3 separate regions of the Homo sapiens genome follow, and all the other regions are linked to region 1. The links are contacts of gene promoters, found by promoter capture Hi-C in human tissues and cell types (Jung and others, 2019). All regions are on one chromosome and are shown on one strand. Each heading gives the region's core, a stretch centred on a gene start or on the middle of the fragment in contact. The rest is flanking DNA. Distances are from core to core; before and after follow the strand shown.

What was found. Contacts are between HindIII fragments. The study calls those that stand out against the background at their distance.
Region 2: a fragment that was not itself captured here is called in contact with the fragment with the promoter of MSTN in region 1 in 1 of the 25 tissues and cell types used here (hippocampus).
Region 3: a contact is called between a fragment that was not itself captured here and the fragment with the promoter of MSTN in region 1, in 1 of the 25 tissues and cell types used here (psoas muscle).

Annotation. Positions count from the first base shown.
Region 1 is chr2:190,060,430-190,064,948 of GRCh38, reverse strand. It overlaps MSTN (myostatin), which reads left to right and starts at 2,220. Exons shown (of 3, transcript NM_005259.3): 1 at 2,220-2,725; 2 at 4,514-4,519. The coding sequence starts at 2,353. It also overlaps a transcript of AKAP19 not described here. The HindIII fragment of the contact is 12,121 bases long and covers 1-3,988 here.
Region 2 is chr2:190,022,898-190,027,416 of GRCh38, reverse strand. It overlaps a transcript of AKAP19 not described here. Among named protein-coding and RNA genes, the nearest start is that of MSTN, 38 kb to the left of the region's middle. The HindIII fragment of the contact is 5,055 bases long and covers 1-4,519 here.
Region 3 is chr2:190,099,499-190,104,017 of GRCh38, reverse strand. It overlaps a transcript of AKAP19 not described here. Among named protein-coding and RNA genes, the nearest start is that of MSTN, 39 kb to the right of the region's middle. The HindIII fragment of the contact is 6,604 bases long and covers 1-4,519 here.

The DNA.
Region 1 (4,519 bases), core at 971-3,470:
ATAGATAAATTTTAGCAAGTAGGCAAATTTGTGAATACAGAAATCATGAATAATAAGAATTGTCTGTTAGCGGAAATGACAACCTTTGTTCACTTTTTTCCAGGTGATAAGAATAAAGAGCTGGAACATGTCTTGTAACCTGGCTGCCTTAGAAAATTTTACTTGCCTCACAGGCCTAGAAAGTAGGCTTTGTGACTGATAATTGGCAGCTATGACCTGAAGCAGTTCTAGTTCATGTGGAGCATAATTTTAAGCATAATCTCAAACCCTTCTGCATAAAACAAAGAGCAAGCACTCAAATGCCAGTTATCAATTACTTACTATATGACAGGTGCCATATTCAGCAATTTACATGCATTATTAAATTATATCCCCCCAAAACCCTATGAGGAAGCTAAAGTTTAGGGAAGTTAAGTATCTCATCCATTATCACATAGTTAGAAGTGGCAAAGTTGAGATTTGAACTCAGGTCTATCTGACTCCAGAGCCTGAGTTCTCAATTCAACTGCTATACAATTCTAAGCATATTAAAAAAAAAGTTTGACTTACTTGGAACTGTATAGATGCATGTGTTACAATGATCATAACATTTGAAAGATTTACACATTGAAAAATGAATTTACCAAACAAATAAAACCTTAGAAGCCAGATCTAATATTGTCCCATAACAAAGAGTATCTGAAATCCTCAGGGCATCTGGTTTGTGTCTGGTTTTCCTTAATCTTTAATGATGAGCAAATCCAATGCATTATGTAAGGCCATTTTTTTCTCAAGAGATGTAGATACCTCTTAAGAATTTGATGAAAATGCATTAACTTTTCAGGCTACTGAGTTGCATTTTAGTGCACCGAGGCAGTAAATTAGTGTACAGTGTGCAAAAATGGTAGTGACTTTAAAAATAAATATTTGATATGAGCCACTGTATTCTCTTGGAAAAAAAAAGTAATGGACTAAATCTCTTAGGAATCCTTAGCTTCCCAAAAAGGAGTAGGAAAAAGAAATCTCCTTTGGCCTAGAAATATCTTCTGTTTCTTGCTGGCTATGTTTGCTTAGCTCTTTAATAGTTCATTTGACTAGATCTTGTGGCTCCCAAAGCTAAGGTTGAACGTTTGATCCCTACAGAGGCCACTTAAATTTAGAGAACAAAAAGCTCTATTCTCTGCTCCCAGACTTTACCCCAAATCCCTGCCAGGTGTCTGCCCTCTGGTCAAAATGAGAAATTGGCAAAGGGGTGCAAACATATCGCAGTATTGGGAAACAACAAAAGGTCACCCCTTTATCATGATGCTCTTTCTCTTTTATGTGCTCATAATATTCTGATATAATTTATAGAGAATAGATACTGCACTTTTTACTCTCTGGATATTTACTGCTGGAAATCTGAGGCAAACTGTAATAATCTCTGCCATGCCAGTTATAAAATTCATTATCTTAGTCTATGTTCAGAGATTTTTCTACTAGCTGGCATTACCCTCTTGGTAATAAACAATGAAAAACACATCTTCTGAGTTATGTTAATCTGCATCTTTAGAATAGGAAATAATAGCACTCAGTCAAAAGTTCAGTATAATTTTCATATTAATAAAAGACATGAAACTATGTAAAAATAATTCCATGCACAATATGTTATAATAACAATGACTTCCAATATTTACTAAGAATTTAGTCAGAAAACAAGTTTCTCAAATTATAGATGAAAATTCTCAACTAGTATCATAATCTTAACTTTTAATTCAGGTCTTCCTAATTTTTATTTTCCTAATTACTTGGCACTAAAAATAATTTAATACAACAAATAAAAATATTTTCTACTTCAAATACTTGCCTAAACAATATAAAATCATTTTAGTTTTTGAGGAAGTAATATTTCATATTTTAAATATGTAGTATAAATTAAAATTGACTTATTTAAATTACAATAAGAGTTGTGTGAGGATTAGTAAGATTTAAGTACAGTTTATATTATTGCCAACATAGACTTTTGTTTTTCAAATGTCACAAATATCTTTTATTATTTGTAGATTTATTTCTTTTATGAAGTAGTCAAATGAATCAGCTCACCCTTGACTGTAACAAAATACTGCTTGGTGACTTGGGACAGACAGGGTTTTAACCTCTGACAGCGAGATTCATTGTGGAGCAAGAGCCAATCATAGATCCTGACGACACTTGTCTCATCTAAGTTGGAATATAAAAAGCCACTTGGAATACAGTATAAAAGATTCACTGGTGTGGCAAGTTGTCTCTCAGACTGTACATGCATTAAAATTTTGCTTGGCATTACTCAAAAGCAAAAGAAAAGTAAAAGGAAGAAACAAGAACAAGAAAAAAGATTATATTGATTTTAAAATCATGCAAAAACTGCAACTCTGTGTTTATATTTACCTGTTTATGCTGATTGTTGCTGGTCCAGTGGATCTAAATGAGAACAGTGAGCAAAAAGAAAATGTGGAAAAAGAGGGGCTGTGTAATGCATGTACTTGGAGACAAAACACTAAATCTTCAAGAATAGAAGCCATTAAGATACAAATCCTCAGTAAACTTCGTCTGGAAACAGCTCCTAACATCAGCAAAGATGTTATAAGACAACTTTTACCCAAAGCTCCTCCACTCCGGGAACTGATTGATCAGTATGATGTCCAGAGGGATGACAGCAGCGATGGCTCTTTGGAAGATGACGATTATCACGCTACAACGGAAACAATCATTACCATGCCTACAGAGTGTAAGTAGTCCTATTAGTGTATATCAACAGTTCTGCTGACTGTTGTTCTAGTGTTTATGAGAAACAGATCTATTTTCAGGCTCTTTTAAACAAGCTGTTGGCCTGTATGTAAGTAGAAAGGAAAAGAGTTTCTCTTTTTCAAGATTGCATGAGAATATATTAATGAGACAAAAATCTGCTGCATTATTTGTTTTCTTATAGAGACAAAAAACTAAAAAATAAAGTACTTGCATAGCATTAATTTAATAAGGCAAATATAGATAGCATGCTTATGCTTTCACAATAATACCACCAAGGCAAGGACTGGGAGATACTACAAGCAGTGTTTAAAACTTACATTAGATTTTAGAATTGTATTTAGTTGTGTAAAATAAGTTTTTTTCACTAATAACAGAAAAAAAAAAAGAAACTTGCTGGATGTTTAAGCTTACTTGAGCACTGCTGAAAACCTCAAGTGATTTCTGTTATTTGAAACTCTCTCAGTAATTTTTTTGTTCTTCACAGTTAAAAATTTAATTTTGAGAGCTATTACACTGAAGAATATGCAAAAATTAAATATCTTAATGTGTTAGTAAGAACAATAATGAAGTAAACATAGCATAATAATCATCATGAACTAAATATTAGAAAATGCCTAAGAAATAAACATTTTAATTGGGTAGGTTATGGCTCACAAAGTCCTCCTTGTACCTTGACCATAGTACTATTATTGAGAGTACCCAGTTTGTGTACTTCCAAGCAGGCACAGTGCTTAATAACCTTCTAAAATATTTTATTCTTCCTGAGAGGGAGGGCTTTTACCTGTAGTATCTACACTGCTTCTGACAGATAACATATTTCATACAATTCCTTTTGCAGTCAGCTCAAAAGAATACTTTCTCCAGGAAAGAGAAACAGGCACCTTGACAGAGAAGGCATGGCAAGAAAAATTTTGTGTTACCTGTTATCTTGCTTTAATACAATGCTTTATATACTTTAAACAAGACTCCAAACAGTTTTAAAATATTATTTCCCTTATTAAGTAATCAGGTTACAATGCAGCAAAGAATTTCCATTTAAGACTCTGCTATCAAATAGGTCTGGAGCAGATTTACCTTTTATAGACAATTTTGGAAAACCAAAATAAAAGAAATTGTTAGTGCTTGTGCTTACATGACAGCCTGGCCCTAAAGACAATACTTTCGAACTTTTCAGATAGCCTGAATATAACATCAAAATTTTTGTGTTAATTATCTGCTTAGTTTTGCTCCTTTAAAAGGTTATTCCAAAGCCAAAATGTAACAGATGTACTGTGTTTTCTACTAATTCCTGAGGCTCAGTAAGTTGCTCAGTGTGTCTTGTCCCCAGGTAATTCAGGCCTGGGGGAAGGGTTCCTTCTTCCAGACTGATTGGTACAGCTGCTCAGTAAGTGTAACTACTCAGATTCCCAAAGAATTCTAAGTGGTTGTTCCTCCACAGTGTCTCTTGTTCTCTCTAATCATCATCATTTTAAAATTTCATTCAGCGTTCATTACTTCATAGAACCTTCCTTTGTCCATAGTTCTCTGGAAGGGGAATAGATTCCTGATGAACAGCTGAAAATACATACGTCTGAAAAATTCTGAAAAGCTAGGGTAATTATTTTCTTTGACATTTTTTTGAGTTATAAAGTTCCACACGGTATTTCATTTTAAAAGACTGCATAGGCATACATTATCTTAATTTAAAAAAATGCTCAACTATTAATATGGAGGGGTTTTGTTAATGGGAAATAATTTCAGCAACTTTTCTTTTCTTATTCATTTATAGCTGATT
Region 2 (4,519 bases), core at 1,109-3,608, 38 kb after region 1:
ATAGGCCATATTTACACATACTCCTCCATCTATGCAAAATGTGATTGGTATATACAGCATGTGAAACTTGATAGAGAAATTAGCTAGTTGAGACCTCCAGTCAAGTTTGATCTCTAGTACATAGCCACCACATGGTTCCACTGACTCTATTAAGAGTAGAGCATTGTGCATGCATGTCCCAGGCTTGGATTTGGAACATAATGTGGCATGTGAGGTGAGGGCAAGGGTTGGGGGCAAGAAATATTACTCTTTTAACAAATGGTGTTGGGTATAAAGTTAATGCTAAGGTACATAATCTTTCCAAGGGCCAATTTAAGAACTTGTATTTTAGTACTTGCAATAAAGCTGCTATGAAATTCTAATCATGGAATTTTGGACATGGATTAGACTGGAGTTTATAATTGAAGTATGGATTTGTTAGGTAAATTACTCTGTTTATGGAATAATATAATTTATCCTACTTTTTAAAACTTAAGTACTTTAATACAACAGTATGCCAGTGTGCAAGAACTGGTTTTATTAATCTAGGTATTCTGTGAAATTCTTATTTAGTATACCAAATGCTCCAAATATTCATTTAATTCAATAATCTTTACTAAGCACCTACTATGTACAACAGTATGCCAGTGTGCCCAATACAGTCCATTGACACTCAGCTCCTACATACTCACATCTCTATATTCTCCCTAGAACTACTGGGAGTAGTAACTTGAAAATGATGTTTCTCAGACTTCATTGCCAACTGATTTCTGGTAGATTCTGTCATTTGGAGGTACTCACATCAGATTAGAAAGAAGAAAGAAGATAGGAGCCATTCTTTTTTGTTTACTTTTGGTAGCTGCAAAGCAGAAGTGCTGATTTCCAGCTCTTATAAGGACAATAGGAGTTTTGGTTCCAGGGCTCTGGTTAATACATTTCCTATATGCTTCTCCCACCCTTCTAACATTTTTATAACCATATCATTATATTAAAACTTTCTGTGTTAAAATATGTAACATCGTTTCTGTTTTCCTAACCAAGCCCCTAACTGATAAAGTTACATTGTGGGGATGCAAAGATTTCATAGTCAAGTGGAGTAGGAGATGCCAAATTTTCTCTGTAAAGAGCTATTTGACAAATCTTTTAGGTTTTGTAGGCCACATACTATCTCTGTCACATAAAGCTGGGGGGCAGATTGGTGGAGTGAGCTGATTTGGCCTGTGGACATAGCCCACATGCTGTAGTTTACCCATCCCTGGAGTAGAAGAAACAAGCAACTACACAAATCACTGCAATGCAATGTAGTATTATAGAAAAAATAATATCTAAGTTGGCCTGAAGTAGTCATGTTTAATGACAAATGAGCTGAAGATGTTTGTATTTTTTTAAAATGAGCAGATGTTCAGCAGTTTAACGAGGAATTTCAGAAACAAAAGAATGCTCAAAGTCATGAAGACATGAGAAGTTAGTGGGAGTGACTGTCTTGCTTGGGGTAAATATAAATGATTGAGAACTACGATATGAATAAATCTTAAATCCTTTATGCTAAGTGAAAGAGATTTAAAAGGCTATATACTGTACAGCTCCATTTATTTGACATTCTGTTAAAGGTAAAGCTATAGGGACTAAACACAGACCAGAATTCACCAGTGCTTGGGGATAAAGATTGGGCAAAGAGAGCCTCAGATTATCATGAAGATCTGACAGAGTTTCAGTTATATCGATGGCATCTCCACAGCAAATACTGCCCATTAGCAAAGTCTGGTATTGCGCAGAAATGGCCAGGACTTTGTGTCTGCACCATGCTCAGTCATTGGCTGTGGCTTCCCAAGAAAAGCATGGGCTCAGCTCTAAAGCTTAGACTACAAAGAGCTTTATTACAAAGGGATGGCATGAGGTGCTTTTTTAGGATGATGAAACTTTTCTGTATCTCAATTACTGTTGTGGTTACATTACTATATGTAATTGTCAAAATTTATAGAAATCTACCCCAAGATGAGTAAATTTAATTTATCATATGTGAATGTTCTCAAACTGCATGAAAATATTCAGTTCATTGTGCACACATGATGTGGGGGGATGGAGAATGGGCAGAGGAGATGAGGATCTGAAGGCAACCAGAGACAGATCCTGAAACACCTTGTATGCTCTGCTAAAAATTTTTGAAACTTATCCTGTAACAAATTGTGTATAATTCAAAGAACTGAAACTTAAAAATAGTCCAACTACTTTTAGAAAGAACACCCTGTATTAGCAAACAGCATTAATGAAAATGAGGCAAGACTAGAAGCAGGGACATTAAGTATGAGGTTGCTGGCCTGAATGGACATGTGGGAGATAAAACTGGTAAATCTTAGTGATCAATGTGATATGAAAGCTAAAATGCAAAGAGGTGTCTAAAAACAATATACCTCCTCCTTGAACAGCTAGATAGACAGTGATGTCAAGAATTGAGATTGAAAATGCTTTAAAAGGAGCAGGTTTCATTCTAAGAAAATCAATTCTATTTTGAGATGTTGAATAAGCAGTGAATACAGATCAACTAGCATTAGACAGCTATTTAAAGTGATTATAAATATATTTAGAGATTTTCCTTCACAAGGAGGCAAAAGACACATAGATATGGCACATCAATAGAATAGGTTAGAAACAATGAAGGACTGAAATATTAGGTGTATATTGGATTAGAACCAAATATTTTAGAATATATAGGACTCCTCAGGCTGCCTTGGAGGCTTACAGTTTACCCTAGAATCAGCCAGAGTGAATTCAAGTACCCAATCAGGGTTTCTCCAGCCTAGACTGTGTCCTAGGTCCTGAACAAATGATATATGTGTGCTGGTCTTCAATGACATAATTTTGAACATACACTTTCTCTTAGGACATGCAGCCTAGATATCCTCAGCACAGTTTAGCATTGTATAGGATTTGTGCCCATTCTACAGTTGCAATGAGTATATATAAATATGACTTTACTTGTCTATTCCCTTGTATAGAGTGAAATGAACCGGGAATTCTTGAAAAATGAAAAAATATATATGTATATATATATATATACACACACATATATATGTGTGTATAGATATACACACACACATATATATATATACACACACACACATATATATATATATACTGGTTCTGCAAATCTTACCTTGATGATTTCTCACTCAAAAGAGCTTTTAAGATTCCAAGTGCATTCCAGCCAAACTGCTTGATCTAGACTCACATCCCTAGGAAGACACATTTACCAGGACGCTGTCCAGCGACAATGACTCCAGCATGACCACCATGGTGTCAGAATGCTGCCTTCCCATCTCATTACTTCTCCACATGTCATTTGCATTTGCATAACATAAATACATTTACTATTGCATCTACTGCCCCCTGGAGGATATGTTGAACTTTATAAGGCAGCAATAGGTATACGTTTATAGGTACAAAAAAATTACTATAAGGAAAAATTGATATTTTTCCCCTTACTTCGATGAAATTTTAACAGTCTTTCACTAAACATCTAAAAGACGTCATTGCAATTCAATTGGAAAATGTTACAATGTAACTAATATAGCTTTACTTCAAACTACTTGAACATAAATCAGAAAAAGTATATATATGTATATATATATATATATATATATACACACACACATTACCTACAGAATAGCAAATATGATATTTTGAGTCTCTGTTAATGCTCCAGAAGATGTCAAAGCACTTTTTATTTTCCTTAAATTTCTGGCAAGATAATCTTAAAACTAAAGAGATTATTCGATTACAAGAAAGAATGTAAATTTTAAAAATTCGACTTTGTAAAATAAAAAAAGAACACTGGAATAAAAACAGAAAATATTTTTCCCCAAATTATTAATCTCCCAACTATTTCTCAAGATATTCCACCAAAATATCTCTTAGAGTGAACATTAGCACAAGGATCATTCTATAGTCATAAAATTTGTCAAAGCTTCAGATTTTATTTTAAAATATGTAAATTTTGTTTTACACCATAATATGCTTTTATTTATTTTAGTGTAAAAGTTATGCTATGTTACTACACTATTTTTAAGTAAAATTAACACCCTGGAAAAGATGTACTATGCTTCTCCTATGGATCCACTACTACTTTCTGACCTCAGATGTTCTTCAACTTGAGATAAACTGGATAAGAAAACATGGGATTAACTTATAAAAACACATTATTGTTTATTGTGTTTAATGTGTTTATAAAAACACATAATTTTGCAGTTTACAATATAGCATAAAAAAGTAGTAATCACATTTGAACAAATGTATAATTATCATATAATATAAATGTAAATCATATATAGACATAAACATAAAATGAAATATCAGTTTGGAAGCATTTCTGCTCAAATATAAATATAAATTAAATACCAGCTTGGGGGCATTTCTCCTTTCTGAGCCTTTAGCCAAAAGGAACCAGAGACATTGGCCTAACATTCTCAGTTAAGATATCACCTCTTCCTTCTTAAAGGTCTCTTCTCTGAGGTCCCCTCAACCAACCACTCTAACATCTCAC
Region 3 (4,519 bases), core at 969-3,468, 39 kb before region 1:
GGTCTCTATTCTGTTCCATTGGTCTATGTGTCTGTTTTTGTACCAGTACCATGCTGTTTTGGTTACTGTGACCTTATAGTATAGTTTGAAGTCAGGTAATGTGATTCCTTTGGCTTTTTGTTTTTGTTTTTGCTTAGGATTGCTTTGGCTATTTGGGCACTTTTCTGTTGCATATGAATTTTAGAATTTTTTTCTAATTCTGTGAAAAATGACATTGGTAGTTTGATAGGAATATTGAATCTGTAGATTGCTTTCGGCAGTGTGGCCATTTTAATAGTATTTATTCTACCAATTTATGAGTATGGAATATTTTTCCATTTGTTTGTGTCATCTATGATTTCTTTCATCAGTGTTTTGCAGTTCTTCTTGTAGAGATCTTTTACCTCCTTGGTTAGATGTATTCGTAGGTATTTTATTTTTTTGTGGATATTATAAATGGACTGTGTTCTTGATTTGGCTTTCAGCCTGAACAATATTGGTGTATAGAAATGCTACTGATATTTGTACGTTGATTTTGTATCCTGAAACTTTACTGAAGTTATTTATCAGTTCCAGGAGCCTTTTGGCAGAGTCTTTGGGACTTTCTAAGTATAGAATCATATGGTCAGCAACAAGAGATAGTTTCACTTCTTCTTTTCCTATTTGGATGCTTTTGATTTTTTTCTCTTCCGATTGCTCTGGCAAGGAATTCCAATACTATGTTGAGTAGGAGTGGTGAGAGTAGGCATCCTTGTCTTGTTCCACTTCTCAAGGGGAATGCTTCCAGCTTTTGCCCATTCAGCATGATGTCGGCTGTGCATTTGTCATAGATGGCTCTTATTATCTTGAGATATGTTCCTTTCATGGGTAGTTTGCTGAGGGTTTTTTTCAGTAAAGGATGTTAGGTTTTATCCAAGGCTTTTTCTGTATCTATTGAAATAATCATAATGCTTTTGTTTTTAATTCTGTTTATGTGGTAAATCACATTTGATTTGCATATGTTGAACCAGCCTTGTATCCCAGGAATGAAGACTAGTTGATTGTGGTGAATTAACTTTTTGATGTGCTGCTGGATTTGGTCTGCTAGCATTTCGTTAAGGATTTCTGTATCTATGTTCATCAGGGATATTGGCCTGCAGTCTTCTTTTTTTGCTGTGTCTCTGCCAGGTTTTGGTTTCAGGGTGATGTTGGCTTCATACAATGAGTTAGGAAGGAGTCCTTCCTCCTTGATTTTTTGGAATAGTTTCAGTAGAATTAGTACCAGCTCTTCTTTGTACGTCTAGCAGTATTTGTCCGTGAATCTGTCTGCTCTGGTGCTTTGTTCGGTTGGTAGGTCTTTTTTTTTATTATTACTGATTCAACTATGAAACTCAGTATTGGTCTGTTCAGGGTTTCAATTTCTTTCTAATTCAATCTTGGCAGGTTGTATGTTTCCAGGAATTTATCAATTTCCTCTAGATCTTCTAGTTTGTGAGCATAGAGGAGTTCATAGTAGTCTCTGAGAATCTTTTGTATTTCTGTAGGCTCAATTGTAATGTCGCCTTTGTCATTTCTGATTGTGCTGATTTGGATCTTTCTTTTTCTTTGTTAATCTAGCAAGCAGTCTATTGATTTTGTTTATCCTTTCAAAGGATCAACTTTTGATTTCATTGATTCTTTGTGTGAATTTTTGGGTCTCAATTTCATTCAGTTCTACTCTTTTTTTTTAGTTATTCCTCTTCTTCTGCTAGCCTTGGGGTTAGTTTGTTCTTGTTTTTCTAGCTCCTCAAGGTGTATGTTAGATCATTAATTTGGGGTCTTTCTAATTTTTTGAGGTAAGTGTTTAGTGCTATGAACTTTCCTCTTAAGACTGCTTTTGCTGCATCCCAGAGATTTGGGTATACCTGTTTTCATTTATTTCAAGGTATTTTTTATTTCTGCCTTAATTTGTTTACCCAAAAGTCACTCAGGAGCAAGCTGTTTAATTTCCATGTATTAGTGTGCTTTGAGAGATCTTCTTTGTATTGATTTCTGTTTTTATTCCACTGTGATCTGAGAGTATGGTTGGTATTATTTCCATTTTTAAAAAATGTATTGAGACTTGCTTTATGGCAGAGCATGTGGTCAACCTTGGAGAATGTTTCATGTATAGATGAGAAGAATATATATATTCTGTGGTTGATGGGTGGGGGTATTTTGTCAATATCTATTAGATTAGATAGGTCAAGTTTTGAATTTAAGTCCAGAATGTATTTGTTAGTTTTCTGCCTCAATGATTTGTCTAATGCTGTTAGTGGGGTGTTCAAGTTCCCCACTATTACTGTGTGGCTGTGTAAGTCTTTTTATAGTCTTTTTATATACTAGAAGTAGTTTTTTTTTTTTCCTAAATGAATCTGGGTGCTCCAATGTTGAGTACATATATATTTAGAATAGTTAAGTCTTCTTGTTGAGCCTTTATCATTATGTAATGACCTTTGTCCTTTTTGACCTCTGAATGCCTGGTGATCTGCCTGAGCATAGAGGGGAAAGAGCCCTGCTGCTCCAGGAAGGGTGGGAGGCTCAGGCTGCTGGTCCAGGCAAATGTGTGCTCTGAATGCCTGGAGTTCTGCCTGGCGGTGGAGTGGAGAGAGCCCTGCTGCTATCCTCTCAGGGGAGCAGGATAGGGTACCCAGCAATGGCACACACAGACTGGTTCCAGGTTACCGAGCTGGTCCTGGCTGCAAGCCTTGTTGCCGAGGAGAAGCCATAACTGTAGCAGCTCTCCTCCTGCCACAGGCCTGTGACAGGGAAGAACACAATTCCAGGGCCTAGTGGTGAGGCACTTTCCACAACTCTGGCCTGTGGAGGCCCCTATCTCACTCCAGAGCAAGCACTTCAGTCTCTGGCCTGAGACAAACATGTCTGCGTGGCCACACTGCCAGGATGCCAAAGAATGGCTGACTTTGCATGTGCCTAGATTAAAAATGGCATCCTCCTCTCAACACTGGGTCTGGGAAATTGACTGCAGCTTTTCCTGATGTCTTTCCCTCATAGCATCTCCAAGCCTCTCCCCAAGTTAGCTCCAGAGCTTGGGAGGAACAAAGTTTTCTTTCTCAGCCTGGGGTGCTTGGAGCCCCAGTGGAAGGGTGAGTTACAGAGGGAGGCTCTCTGCCTCTCTCACCTACTGGGGCTTCACTCACTTTTATCAGCTGGACACCATCATGGGGCCAGTGTTCTCCTCCCTGGGATCTGGAGTATCTTTCACAATTCCAGTGGATTCTGATTTTCCTTCTTGAATTAAAGCTCACAGTTGATCTTTATGTACTATCTTGCTGTTTCCAAGTGGCTGAGACATGCTAAAACCCTCTAATCAGCTGTCTTGGAAAAAAAAATTTCTAATTGTTATTTTCTTCCCTGATGGTTTATAATCCTTCCTTCACCCCTGTGCATATTTTAAACATACTTTGTAAATATTTCTGTCAGGTTATTCTACTTTTTTAAGCCTTGGCTTCCATTTCTTTCATCTGCTGAGTCTCAAACGTAGTTATTTGTTTTATGGTATGATTTACAATGTTTGACTATGACCTACTCATTAGAAGAGAGTTCTCTGTGGAAAAGTAGCCTATAGGATACTTTTTCTTTGTCTCAACTTGCATGAAAGAACTGGATTCCTTACAGAAGGAGCAGGTCTGAAAAGCAAACCAAACCAAAACAGCAACAAAAACGAATTGGATCCCTTTTTAGCTGATTTCCTGGCTTCAAAGTCCTTCCACATAGTCAGCATGATTTCAGACTCCCCATCTTGGCATGGCACATACTGGTTTTTTTTTATTTCTTGCAGGTGATATTTTCTCATTCATCATCCTGGGATACTAATAAACCTTCTTGTTGCTTAACTGGGCTGATGGGCAGAGTTCCCTTAGTCTCCATTTCAAAGTCAGCCCAACCCTTTATGACTCCCGGATTTATCTAAATAGCTGTTTTAGCTTTAATCCTACAGTCTGAAGCCTGTAATCTCCTTTCAGGGAGACAATTAGTAGAACCAACTCCAGTGTTTAAGGCCTGTATCTGATTGCAACAATTCTATGAGCAGTTTGGGCATAAGATTCTGCTTAGCACTCTGACTTGAAGTTTCCTTTTTAATTCTAATACTAGGGGGACTTTCTTTCTTGATTTCAAACTCAGCTTCATACCTAAAGAAGTTTTAGCCATATGTTATTCTATGTTTAGAGCAGAAGAGTTAAGGATTCATTCCCATCAGCTCATGTTATATCATGGTAAGTCTGAGAAAAGTTTCAAAAAATGTATTTACTTATCAAGAAAAGTATGGAGCATCTACAATGTTTAAGCACAAGCACACCTCATTTTATTGCATTTCACTTTATCGTGCTTCACAATGACTGTGGTTTTTACAAATTGAGTTTGTGGCAACTCTGCATCAAACAAGTCTATTGGCACCATTTTTCAACAACATGCTCACTTGGTGTCTCTGTCGCATTTTGGTGATTCTTGCAATTGATTTCAAATTTTATTATTATTATTATATCTGTTATGGTGATCTATGATCAGTGATTTTTTGATG